Linked DNA regions of Homo sapiens: all the other regions are linked to region 1. Evidence: promoter capture Hi-C in 16 types of primary human blood cells and fetal thymus (Javierre and others, 2016). All regions are on one chromosome and are shown on one strand. Each heading gives the region's core, a stretch centred on a gene start or on the middle of the fragment in contact. The rest is flanking DNA. Distances are from core to core; before and after follow the strand shown.

The links. The method cuts DNA at HindIII sites, captures the fragments that hold promoters and counts their contacts. A CHiCAGO score of 5 or more calls a contact.
Region 2: a contact is called between a fragment that was not itself captured here and the fragment with the promoter of GAR1 in region 1, in 1 of 17 cell types (total CD8 T cells). The highest score is 7.0, in total CD8 T cells.
Region 3: a contact is called between a fragment that was not itself captured here and the fragment with the promoter of GAR1 in region 1, in 5 of 17 cell types (naive B cells, non-activated CD4 T cells, total CD4 T cells and 2 more). The highest score is 6.8, in naive B cells.
Region 4: a fragment that was not itself captured here is called in contact with the fragment with the promoter of GAR1 in region 1 in 3 of 17 cell types (activated CD4 T cells, total CD8 T cells and M1 macrophages); the score reaches 6.9 in activated CD4 T cells.

Annotation. Positions count from the first base shown.
Region 1 is chr4:109,814,181-109,817,191 of GRCh38, forward strand. It overlaps GAR1 (GAR1 ribonucleoprotein), which reads left to right and starts at 1,582. Exons shown (of 7, transcript NM_018983.4): 1 at 1,582-1,624; 2 at 1,973-2,198. The coding sequence starts at 1,985. It overlaps GAR1-DT (GAR1 divergent transcript), which reads right to left and starts at 1,202. Exons shown (of 2, transcript NR_186620.1): 1 at 651-1,202. RefSeq lists enhancers at 958-1,057, 1,228-1,627, 1,638-1,687, 2,038-2,087, 2,258-2,327. The HindIII fragment of the contact is 3,017 bases long and covers 667-3,011 here.
Region 2 is chr4:108,032,311-108,035,321 of GRCh38, forward strand. HADH (hydroxyacyl-CoA dehydrogenase) reads left to right here. Exons shown (of 8, transcript NM_005327.7): 7 at 866-982; 8 at 1,929-2,861. The coding sequence ends at 2,047. Among named protein-coding and RNA genes, the nearest start is that of HADH, 44 kb to the left of the region's middle. The HindIII fragment of the contact is 2,884 bases long and covers 184-3,011 here.
Region 3 is chr4:108,659,529-108,662,539 of GRCh38, forward strand. The region is part of intron 3 of OSTC (oligosaccharyltransferase complex non-catalytic subunit); the gene reads left to right. Among named protein-coding and RNA genes, the nearest start is that of OSTC, 10 kb to the left of the region's middle. The HindIII fragment of the contact is 2,101 bases long and covers 511-2,611 here.
Region 4 is chr4:108,684,714-108,687,724 of GRCh38, forward strand. No RefSeq gene overlaps it. Among named protein-coding and RNA genes, the nearest start is that of OSTC, 36 kb to the left of the region's middle. The HindIII fragment of the contact is 1,924 bases long and covers 640-2,563 here.

The sequences.
Region 1 (3,011 bases), core at 332-2,831:
ATTCAGAATTGAGCAAATACACAGCAAAAGATAAGCAAAGGTTTCATACTAAATAGGTAATTTTCATTTTTTGTTTCAAAAATAATACACTTATATAGGCCCATAAAAAGACCAACATTCGTTAAAATCAAATTGCAGCATTTACTAAACTAAAAGAAAAAGAACAAGTAAAGTTTCCTCTCTCACTTATTTTGTTTTTTGTTTGTTTTGAGACCAAGCCTTGCTCTGTCGTCCAGGCTGGAGTGCAGTGGCGTGATCTCGGCTCACGGCAACCTCCGCCTCCCGGGTTCAAGCGATTCTCCTGCCTCAGCCTCCCGAGTAGCTGCGATTACAGGCGTGTGCCACCATGCCCGGCTGATTTTTGTATTTTTAGTAGAGAAGGGGTTTCACCGTATTGGCCAGGCTGGTCTCGAACTCCTGATCTCAAGTGATCCATCTGCCTTGGCCTCCCAAAGTGCTGGGATTACAGGCGTGAGCCACCACGCCCCGCCTACAAAGGTATTTTAAAATCCCATTTACAATAACCCTCTGAATTAGATAGGTACCAAGTTCCACCCTCTTCTAAACACGAGATCAAATATCAAGGTAAGGTCTCAGAGGGTTTGGGTGTAAAAGACTCCAACCAAATTTAATAAATGGGAAGTCATTACCTTTATTTGTGAGAGAAGCTTTGGAGAATGTGGGGGAAGCTGATGTCAAATATAAAGGGCTTAAAGAGAGAAGAGGGAGAGGAGCTTTCAGCACAGTCCAGTTCACAGCCCGTCGGTGCTCAAAACATACTTGAATACCTGGTACAAAAGATAAAAATGATGGTTTGGTTTTCTATAAGACAGCATAGTTTCTTTAAAATTACACACACACATGCATTGCTTTTCTTCCTTTAATTAGTTGAGACCATAGGACAAAAGAAGAGGCATAGTTGAGCGCGTAATGGTGCGAAAATCAAAAGGTTGGGAAGAAACAAGAAACTCAGATAAACGCTTCCGTCGGCTGTGACAGGTTCTGAGGCGCCCAGATCTACTGGACATAGCGCGGCTCAGAAGCCTCAGAGACCTGTCCGCACAGTTCCTGAAGTTAGCAACAAATTAGTGAGTGCTGTTGCGGGCCATTTTGCAGCCAGAGAAGCAAATGCGCAAATGCGCCCAGCCAGTCAGCACGGACTTCAAGAACCAACTTCATTCCTTGCAAGGTGCTTTAGTTCTGGCCGTTAGGGCGGCAACCAAACAGAAACCTGCCCCGCCTCTGGGAGAGAAGGCGGATCCCTAACGCCAGCTATCTCCAAGAGCAACATTGCCGCAGCACTTCCGGGACGTCGTGCTGCAAAGGACGCCGCTGTTATACGTCACTTCCACGGCTCAGCGTCAGGCAAGTTGGCCTCTCTGTTGTAAATTAGTGGTTAAGGTTATCTATTATTGCCACTTTTCCAGCGCTAAAGGCTGTTTTGGAACCAGTGTTGCTTGTTCCGCGGGTGATTGGCTTTTTTTTTTGGCAAACCAGTTATTCAAGTTTCTGGTCTTTAAAAAACTCTGTGGCGGTACGGTAACCGAGGAGGTTCCAGCGCGGCGGAAGTACCCCGCGGGTGGGTGTGTGCGCAAGGCCAGGGCCAGAGGGGCACGTGGCGCCGGTGAGTGGCCGTAGAAGCCGGAGGATTTGAAAATGCTGGACGTGGAACCCAACTGCCGGAGGGAGGGAGGAAGGAAGGGGATGCGGTGCGAAGACCTTGCTGTCTGTAGGGGGAGGAGATACTAATCATGGGGCGGCAAGGGTGGTGTGTGGTCGGTCGGCGCTCACGAGACCATGGAGAAGTAAACTCTTCACCCATCAGGTTGGTGGTCACTGGCTGTCTGACCGTGGGTGAGGTGACAGGGCTGCTTTTGTCTCCTTTATGGTGTTCTCACCGCAGCTCCGAGGGGTTGGAGTATACTCAGAGGCTACAGTGATCAGAAGACATAGGTCGTTTTTTTTTCATCAGGGAGGAGAGAGAATGTCTTTTCGAGGCGGAGGTCGTGGAGGCTTTAATCGAGGTGGTGGAGGTGGCGGCTTCAACCGAGGTGGCAGCAGCAACCACTTCCGAGGTGGAGGCGGCGGTGGAGGCGGCGGCAATTTCAGAGGCGGCGGCAGGGGAGGATTTGGACGAGGGGGTGGCCGCGGAGGCTTTAACAAAGGCCAAGACCAAGGACCTCCAGAACGTGTAGTCTGTATGCAGTCTTCAGTATTTAGCTTATTTGAAGGAGTAGGTGTGGGTTGGGGGTTTGTGTTGTTAGGCAGCAAGTTTGGGATACACAAGCCTGTGTGGAGAATGTAGCATGTAAGGGTGGAGTGGGGAGATCAAGAAAGCTGAGGGATACTTAGAATGCATCTTGGAGGTGGAACTTGAGGGTTGACAGGAAGATATTAAATAGGTAATCGTGAGTACTTATGCCTAATTCCCCGATTTTACAGATGAGAAAACTATGATTTAGAGTTAAGTTTTTTTGCTGGGGTCATAAGGTTAGTGATAAGTGATCAATTAGTGATATAGCTGAAATACAGGCTGGGTGCGGTGGCTCACGCCTGTAATCCCAACACTTTGGGAAGCTAAGACGGGAGGATCTTTTGAAGCCGGGAGTTAGAGACCAGCCTGGATAATAAAGCAGGAGACCCTGTCTGTACAGAAAAGAAAGAAATACAAAGCCAAGTATTCTGACTCCAAAGCCCATGCTTTCTGTTACTACTCAAAAGTAGATAAGTGAGAAAACAATTTGCTTGAGAGGGAAACTGCCAGAGAGGAAATCTAGAAAAACACCTATTTAGGGTAGTTTTAGAGTAATTAACAATGAGATGGGAATGGAAGTCACAGAAAGTGAAACTTACTACATTAAAGAGGAGAGAGGGTGAGTAGTGTCTAACTAAGAATGGCTTGGATGAGTATGCAGGATGGTTTGAAAGGAGCAGTTTCTAGAATAAAAGGTCCCAGCCCACAAGCTGTTGTACCAGTCCATACATGAGACCTTGAGAGCCTGAATCAGGAT
Region 2 (3,011 bases), core at 376-2,875, 1.8 Mb before region 1:
GTAGTCTACTCAACAGACTTCCAAACGTGTGGTGATTCTAACTCGGGTTTGGGCTTTTCTTTAAAAGGTATCTTGACTAAAAGGTTTGTGTGAAATGTGATGCCAGGGGAATACTCCTTACTTGTAAAACCCAAAAAACTGGGGGAAAGAATACATACAATAACTATACATACAAAAGCAGAAAGCTTAGTTTTCTTTTTAAGAAAGTTTATTTATAAATCAAAAATATGCTGTAGCATTAAATTATACTTTAATAAATGATTCCAGAGTTGGAAAATCCCAATGTATTTGAAAGTAGCTGAAGTTTCAGGCATGGAGACTTCTGTCTCCATGAACAGGGTATCAGTACTCCAAAATTCACCTCAGTGGTGCGTAGCTTTGAAAATCTTGGGCCACACACTGTGGCTTACACCTGTAATCTTAGCACTTTGGGAAGCTGAGACGGGAGGATCACTTGAGGTTGGGAGTTTGAGCCCAGACTGGCCAAATGGTGAAACCCTATCTCTACTAAAAATATAAATATTAGCCTTGTGTGGGGGCGCACACCTGTAGTCTCAGCCACTAGGGAGGCTGAGGCAGGAGAATCACTTGAACCCAGGAGGCGGAGGTTGCAGCGAGCCAAGATTGTGCCATTGCACTTCAGCTTGGGTGACAGAGCAAGACTCTGTCTCAAAAAAAACAAAGTCTTATGACCTCTTTGGCATGTACTTTAGAGAGGAAATCTTACCCAAGCCAGAAAGTCTCAGTCTAGGCATTTTTTTTATTGTGCAAGCATATAAAATTCTAGTAATTCTGGGGCTAATCCTGTGATAGGGAGAATTCAAGGAAAGGTGGTGGTGACCCAGTGCTGCCGTTTTCTCCTTAGGTGACGCATCCAAAGAAGACATTGACACTGCTATGAAATTAGGAGCCGGTTACCCCATGGGCCCATTTGAGCTTCTAGATTATGTCGGACTGGATACTACGAAGTTCATCGTGGATGGTAGGAATTGGAATTTTTTGTTGTCTTTAATTGAGGTAGTTTTTCTGAACTGTAAATTATAATGCCTTTTTAAAAAAAGTTAGCAGGGGTCTTAATAAAGACCTTCCAAAATCCTGCCTCACCAGGTTGAGAATTCATGAACAGATGTCAGGAGAAGGAAGAATGTGACTGTCTAGTGTCTCTTTAACAGGGTGACCTTGAAGAAAAAAAAACCTTTATGGATTCACAGGAAGTTACAAATATAGCACAGACAGGTCTTGTGTGTGTGCCCTTCACCCAGTTTCCACCAGTGGTTATATAGCCATAGTACAATATTAAATCCCAGGAAATTGACACTGGTACACTGTGTTATCACATCAATAGATTTGTGTAACCTCCATTGCAAGCAAGATACACATCCATTTTAAAAAATATATCCATTGTAATGTAAAAGCTCTGAAGACAGGGTAAAAATAATAATTAAAACTGGACTACTGAAGTTGAATGTAGCTATCTGTTCCCAAGTTTCACAGAATGCTAGTTGAAGAATTAAATTTTGAATCTTATGTGGATGCAAAATACCAATGGCAGGAATGCAGATTTTTTAACGTGTATTCTGAAAGTTAACTGTGCCAGTGATGAATCCAACCAGCAAATTAATGGCTTCTGTCAGTGTACTTGGGCCTTTGGCCGTAGTGATTTCTGAGAAGACACTGGATAAGCAGGAGGACCATAGTAGGGCCAGGCTTCAGGCAGCACAGGTGGGTGGCAGTGCAGCAGCTTTGGGGCTGATGTGGCTGCACCAGCACAGCCTTCCTTGGTGCCTCTGCAGTGGTGGCCGGAGGGGCGCCATGCCTGGGGGGCTCTCCCACATCAGAGGCAGGCCTCCAGACTTGTCCTTGGAAATGCCAAGATGTAAAAATAAACCCAGCACTTCATCCTGAGTTCTCTTCCCTCCGCTCAATAGGGTGGCATGAAATGGATGCAGAGAACCCATTACATCAGCCCAGCCCATCCTTAAATAAGCTGGTAGCAGAGAACAAGTTCGGCAAGAAGACTGGAGAAGGATTTTACAAATACAAGTGATGTGCAGCTTCTCCGGCTCTGAGAAGAACACCTGAGAGCGCTTTCCAGCCAGTGCCCCGAGTGCCTGTGGGAATGCTCTTTGGTCAGACATTCCCTCACACAGTACAGTTTAATAAATGTGCATTTTGATTGTAATCTATCGAAGTGATTATTACACCAGTTACAGCAGTAATAGATTCTCCATTAAGAAATAATTCCCTTTTTTAGTCTGTTCATTTCTGTGTATTTTCTAAACAGCTTTACACCCTTGGTGCCTTGGAGCAAACATGTTTTTTGAACCTTGTCATTTTTGTGAAGAATTGCCTAGATTCCTTCTCTCATCAACGGGAAAGTACTTCCTCTGAGAGTGCGAGTGCACCATGCTCACTGTTGCTGCGTGGGAGAGTCACAAGCCACTGGCAAGCAAGTGGTATAGTCTGTGAAGCACTGCAGCGAGCAGCACCTGGATCTTGCCTTTATAAGAACATTTTACTACCTGCAGCTTTGAGTCTTGCCCTACATTTTGGGCATGACATAAGATGTGTCTTTATTCAGCTCGTCGTGAAGATGCTGCTGCTGAATGGGTCAGCATATCTCTGTTTGCATGGTTTGCAGGAGGTCGGTTTTCATGGTCATTCAGTTCCACAGATCTGAATGATTACTGTCTGTCTGTGTCTTTTTTCCATGAGAAATCACTGTTGCAAATTGCCTATAAATTGACTCTACTAAAATAACAATGTTTCAGTCTGAAAATTTGAATTGAAAAAAATGTATAATATAAAATTGTAATACACTCAAATGATTATAAAAGTAAAAGTTGGTAATTTAGGCAGAAGCTATTTCTCCTCTTCTTTGACCTGCTGTTAATTTTTAAAGTGGGAGTGACGGGGAGGGAATGGCAGGACAAGGCATTTGTGTAAAACCTGCCTGGGGCCGTCGCTGCCAGATTTCTTACCAGGAAAGCAGTAATAAGGGCACAGAGAAC
Region 3 (3,011 bases), core at 311-2,810, 1.2 Mb before region 1:
GAGGCTGAAGCGGGCGGATCACAAGGTCAGGAGATCAAAACCATCCTGGCTAACATGGTGAAACCCCATCTCTTACTAAAAATACAAAAAATGAGCCAGGCATGGTGTCGGGTGCCTGTAGTCCCAGCTACTCGGGAGGCTGAGGCAGGAGAATGGCGTGAACCCAGGAGGCAGAGCTTGCAGTGAGCCAAGATCGTGCCACTGCACTCCAGCCTGGGCGACAGAGTAAGACTCCATCTCAAAAAAAAGAAAAGAAAAGAAAAGAAAATTTACAACCAAAACAAAAGAAACCTTTGGAGGCATGTGTCAGAACAGAGAAAGTGTCCTGGTTTTGCTTATAGAATCAAATATGTTCTCATTCTACCTACTGTTTTCATTCTACATAGTGTTTTCCTTCTTTATAGTTTTACGTCCTCTTCCTAGGAATGAGTCTATTAAGAAAATAGGTGTTATCTTTTAGCTTTGGCATTTGACTTTCAGGATAATAGAGCTATCTGCTACTGACAGAAAAGCTTTGACAAGTGTTTAATACTCTGGATTACCTTCATCTTACTTTTGCAATCATTTATGTGAACATTTGTCTTCCTGTCCACATTCTATAGGCTAGTATGTAACACCGTTGACTAAATCCAAACTTTAGGCTAGGGAAAAAGGGTATACTTTCTGGGTTTCGGTTGTAGATTATGTTTAGATCTAATCAAAACAGGACAGTGGTCCAAACAGAAAATTGCTATTTTCTGTATCTTGTAAATCTAGGATTTGAGTTTTTAAGATGAATTTATGGTTCCCTTTCTGATATCATTTCTCATCTGCAGCTCCTAATGCCTGGTACCTTGGGTATGGAGTGAGGAGAGACAATGGACAGTTTTATATAAGAAATGGAAGTAATGATACTATCTTTCCTGGAATATTTGCAGGCCCCAGAGGAGATGATGAGCAAGGACTGTTGGCCTGTATTACACACAACAGGGTTGTAGTTACTATCCCAGCAAGGAAAGGGTGTATCTTTCTTCTTTCATGCAAATTATCTATGATGACCTAACAGTTTGATTATAGTGAGTGGACTAACCACAACAATAAAAAAGATGTCAAAAAAACACCAATAGCCACTGGTTTTTCCAAATCAACTATGTTTCTAGCATCTGAGATAAAGGATGGCTGTATCATAAGATGCACCATGATAACCTCCAGGGTGGAATTCTTTTTTACAAAGATGTTACCTTTAGCAAGAGATGCCTTTGAAAAGGAGAAAACAGTAGCACTGAAACAGTATTACTGGTTCTGTTTTCTGATTTATGCTTTTTTGAAAGACCTGATGTTTCCCCTATTGATATAATTTTACTAATTAAAACATGTTTTATTTGATGTCTTGAGTTTTGAAGAAACGTCGAAAATGAATGACTGTTGGCTGGGCACAGTGGCTCAGGCCTGTAATCCCAGCATTTTGGGAGGCCGAGGTGTGCAGATCACTTGAGGTCAGGAGTTCAAGACCAGCCTGGTCAACGTGGTGAAAACCAGTCTCTACTAAAAAATAAAAAAATTAGCTGGGCGTGGTAGTGCACGCCTGTAATCCCAGCTATTTGGGAGGCTGAGGCACGAGAATTGCATGAACCCAGGAGGCAGAGGTTGCAGTGAGTCGAAATTGTGCCACTGCATTCCAGGCTTGGTGACAGAGTGGGACTCCATCTCAAAAAAAAAAAAAAAAAAGAATAAAGAATGATTGTTTATTAGCTTTGCACACATAGCAGTACATTTAAAAGGAAAAAATTAAACGTAGTCCCTAATATTTTTATTAGTACAGTCTCAAAGGAGTAATTTTCATTGTGAAAATGAAAATATTCTAATATAATTTATGAGATAATGTATGTGAAATCATGTATGTATGCGTCTGTATGTTCACTGCATTTTAAATATACATAGACTCAAAGGAAATAATGTTCGGTTACTGAGTAGAAGACTGGTACACGTTTGAACTTGATTCTTCTGAAAAAATAATGAATCTTCATTAGATTGTCTTTAGCCTCCACTCTTAGGGCAGCTTTAACTTAAAAGCAGAATCTTTTTCTTTTCTTTTCTTTTTTCCTTTTTTGAGACAGTCTTGCTTTATCACCCAGGCTAGAGTGCAATGGCGCGGTCTCGGCTCACTGCTACCTCCGCCTCCCAGGTTCAAGCCATTCTCCTGCCTCAGCCTCCCGAGTAGCTGGGATTACAGGCATGTGCCACCATGCCAGGCTAATTTTTGTATTTTTAGTAGAGATGAGGTTTTGCCATTTTGGCAGAGGCTGGTCTCGAACTCCTGACCTCAAGTGATCTGCCTGCCTCAGCCTCCCAAAGTGCTGGGATTACAGGCGTGAGCCACCATGCCTGGCCAAAAGCAGAATCTTAAAAAAAATAAAAATAAAAGGTGGCCTGTGGTGGCGTGGTAATGCCCTAAAGTCAGGTGAGGTGTTCAATTGGAGATGGAGGGATGGGTTCCTACATTCAGGCAAGTCTGTTATAAAGCTGTATAAAACTACTTGAAATAGATACTATCAGATAATTGAGGACAAAAGGTCTGCCTTATTTCAGCTGGCAAAAATGGCTTTTTAGCAATTTCACCTAGTGTTTATTAAGCTTGAGAAGAAAAGCTAAGGATCTTCTGGATAAATCCTGAGATCATGGGATCAGTTCAGAAAACAAGTTCTCTTAAAGGGAGAAAGGAATAAAAAATATGAATGTAATAATATTTAAACTAACATCATTTAGGGAATGATATGCTGCATATATGTGATTCCATGTAATTGAAAATACATAAATACTAAAACATTGTATTCATTTTCGACAGACCCTCTTTCTAAAGCGTTTGTTGTGTTGTATTACACGTTAACACTCATATTTGTATGTAGCAAATATTTATTTGATAACTGTTACTTGCTGGACACTGAGATTAAACATAATTTAACCTTCTCCACTGAGGTCATTTTACATTTCTGTTATGCATAGTACTACTTTTCAGTTTTGTTGATTTCACT
Region 4 (3,011 bases), core at 352-2,851, 1.1 Mb before region 1:
TCTGGGTCTTTCAGGTCTCGCATGTCGAGGCAGATCTATTTTTTCTTTTCTCTTCCCTTTTTTTTTTTTTTTTTTTTTTGAGATGGAGTCTCATTCATTGCCTAGGCTGAGTGCAGTGGCGCGATCTCGGCTCACTGCAACCTCTGCCTCCCTGGTTCAAGCAATTCTCTGCCTCAGCCTCCCGAGTAGCTGGGACTACAGGCGCCTGCCACCACACCTGGCTAATTTTTGTATTTTTAGTAGAGACATGGTTTCACCATGTTGGCCAGGCTGGTCTCGCACTACTGACCTCAGGTGATCCGCCTGCCTCAGCCTCCCAAAGTCCTGGGATTACAGGCGTGAGCCACCGTGCCTGGCCTACTTTTTCCTTTTCTACCCACCCCACCCCAACCAACCTGTCTCAGTGAAAACCTGGTTGTTACTAAAGTGAAACTTTAATAAGGATATTGCCTAGGGAAGATTAGTTGTTTTCCTTGTCATTCAAGTTCATTCTGGACCTCTTCCTCTGAGCTGTTAATCAGTGTTGCTAAACAGACAGGGAAAGACAAGGGAGAGAAAAATGCTGATTCATTCTTCAGAACTTTTAACCCTTTTAACCCCTAATTCTTCTCCTTGAGAAGCTATTCTTTGATTGTGAAAAGCTTTGTTGTTCAAGGAAATATGGGTAATAAAAATAGCTAACATTTATTAAGAGCATAACATTTATTAAGAGAATACTGTATGCCAGATATTGTTCCAAGCACTTTTCATATTAACTCACTGCATCCTCATAAAATGCTATGAGATAGTACAACTAAGGCCATTTCATAGATGAGAAAACTGAGGTTCAGAGAGATTAAGTCACTTGCCAAAGATTGCACAGGTCCTAGGTGGCAAGCCTGCAGTAGAGATCCATAGCCTCTGCTCCTAACCACAACGGGGTCTTCTAGGAACGTGTCCTTATTTGGCCTCAAAGGAATAATAATCTTTTAATATTTTTTAAAAAAGAGTTGACTAGATTGGAAAGTGCCTAAGTTCAGGGTCTGATTCTATTTCTTAGTTACTTTACAAAATTTTCTGCACCATACCTCTAGCTATATATTCATACCCACTTGTCGTAGCACTTAGAAGTTTTATCAGTTTAGTCTCACTTGCCTTTGCATCTGAGCAATATGCACAATGGTTAGTATCTATTATTATTATTATTATTATTATTAAGACAGAGTCTCACTCTGTCACCCAGGCTGGAGTACAGTGGTGCAATCCCTGCTCATTGCAACCTCCTCCTCCCAGGTTCAAGTGATTCTCATGCCTCAGCCTCCCGAGTAGCTGGGACTACAGGCACGCACCGCCATGCCCAGCTAATTTTTGTATTTTTAGTAGAGATGGGGTTTCACCACATTGGCCAGGCTGATCTGGAACTCCTGACCTCAAGTGATCGCCCACCTCAGCCTCCCAAAGTGCTGGGATTACAGGTGTGAGCCACCATGGCCAAAAAATATATAATATTATATATTACATATATCTTATATCTATCTTGACATATGTTTGGGGACTTATATAGAAATAACTTTTGGAGAATGCTTTAAAGTTTACAAAGGGTATGTTCATTGCTTTACCTATGACTAATTATAGATATTTAACATGGCCTCATTTATTTGAAATTTAGAAAAGTATTTTTTCATATAACTTCCCTTTGGAAGCATGTTAGTTTAATTCTACCCAAACTGTATGTGCAAGATTATATGTACATATGTTTCTTTTGATAATGCAGCTTTTATATTTCATTTTACTAAATTCAGGCATGAGAAGAGGATAAATCAAGGAAATTTACTCATATAGGTGGTTCATGGCTTCAGTAATGAGGTAAGCTATACTATAAACTTAGAAAAATGAGAAACGAGAACCCCTTTATGAAGCTGGTAAAATGTTCCTAAAATAGAGGTGATTCGCTATCTTGGATTATAAGCTGAGAAATCATAATAATGTGGAACTGAAAATTTGGGGAACACCCAACTCCAATCAAGGTGAGCTACGTTTGATCCCCGGGATCTGTTCACTTGTGCTGTGGTGGGTCTGCAGATAGACAGGAGATAGAAGCAGGAGGATCAGGCCAGACCATAAAAAGAAAATCCCCCAAACCAAGGTTTCTCCTGCACTGTCCAGATTAGAAGGAGCCTTTGCAAGATTATTTCAGTAAAGGAAAGAAGTGCCTCAAACTCTTCTTTAAGAGACGTTTTAGGTTCACTCATTTCCCACTGTTTTGGCTCTACTCACCAAAGCCACTTCCTGATTTGATTGGCTAAAGTTTTATTCCTCTGATTAAAATCTTTCAGATAAAATCTTCATGATAAAAGCCCAACTCCTAATAGTGGCCCCAAAGGCCCTGTACATCGCCTCTTCCCCCTCTCCATCCTTTGATCTCATCTCCTAGTCCTCCAGTTCATTCTGTCCATACTGCCTTCCTTACTGTTCCTCAAACACACCAATCACACCCTGCCTCATGGCCTTTCCTCTCCCTCTACCCAGATGGCTCATTCCCTCATTTCCTTCAAGTCTTTGTTCAAAGGTCATTTCTCAATGAAGCTTTCCTTCTCTGTTTAAAAATTACAGCTTCTACCTTTCTAATTTCTTTTCCATAGCACTCAGTGCTGTTTATCATACTATATAATTGCCTTGTTCATTTTATTTATCTAGATTAGAATATAAGCTACATGAAGGCAAGACATAGATCAGTGCCTGGACATAATACATGCTCAATAAATATTCAATGAATTGCTCAATGTAACCCTTCAGGAAAATATAAGAATTGGCTGATTTGCTATAAGCATCTAAGCATCTCAGGACAATTGGAGTTAATTTTTTCTGCCAAATATCTTCCCTGACAACTTTCTTACTCATTGTCTATTCCTCTTTATAACTTGAACTAATCTTTTTTTTTTGAGACGGAGTCTCGCTTTGTCGCCAGGCTAGAGTGGAGTGGCGCAATCTCGGCTCACTGCAACCTCCATCTCCTGGGTTCAAGCAATTCT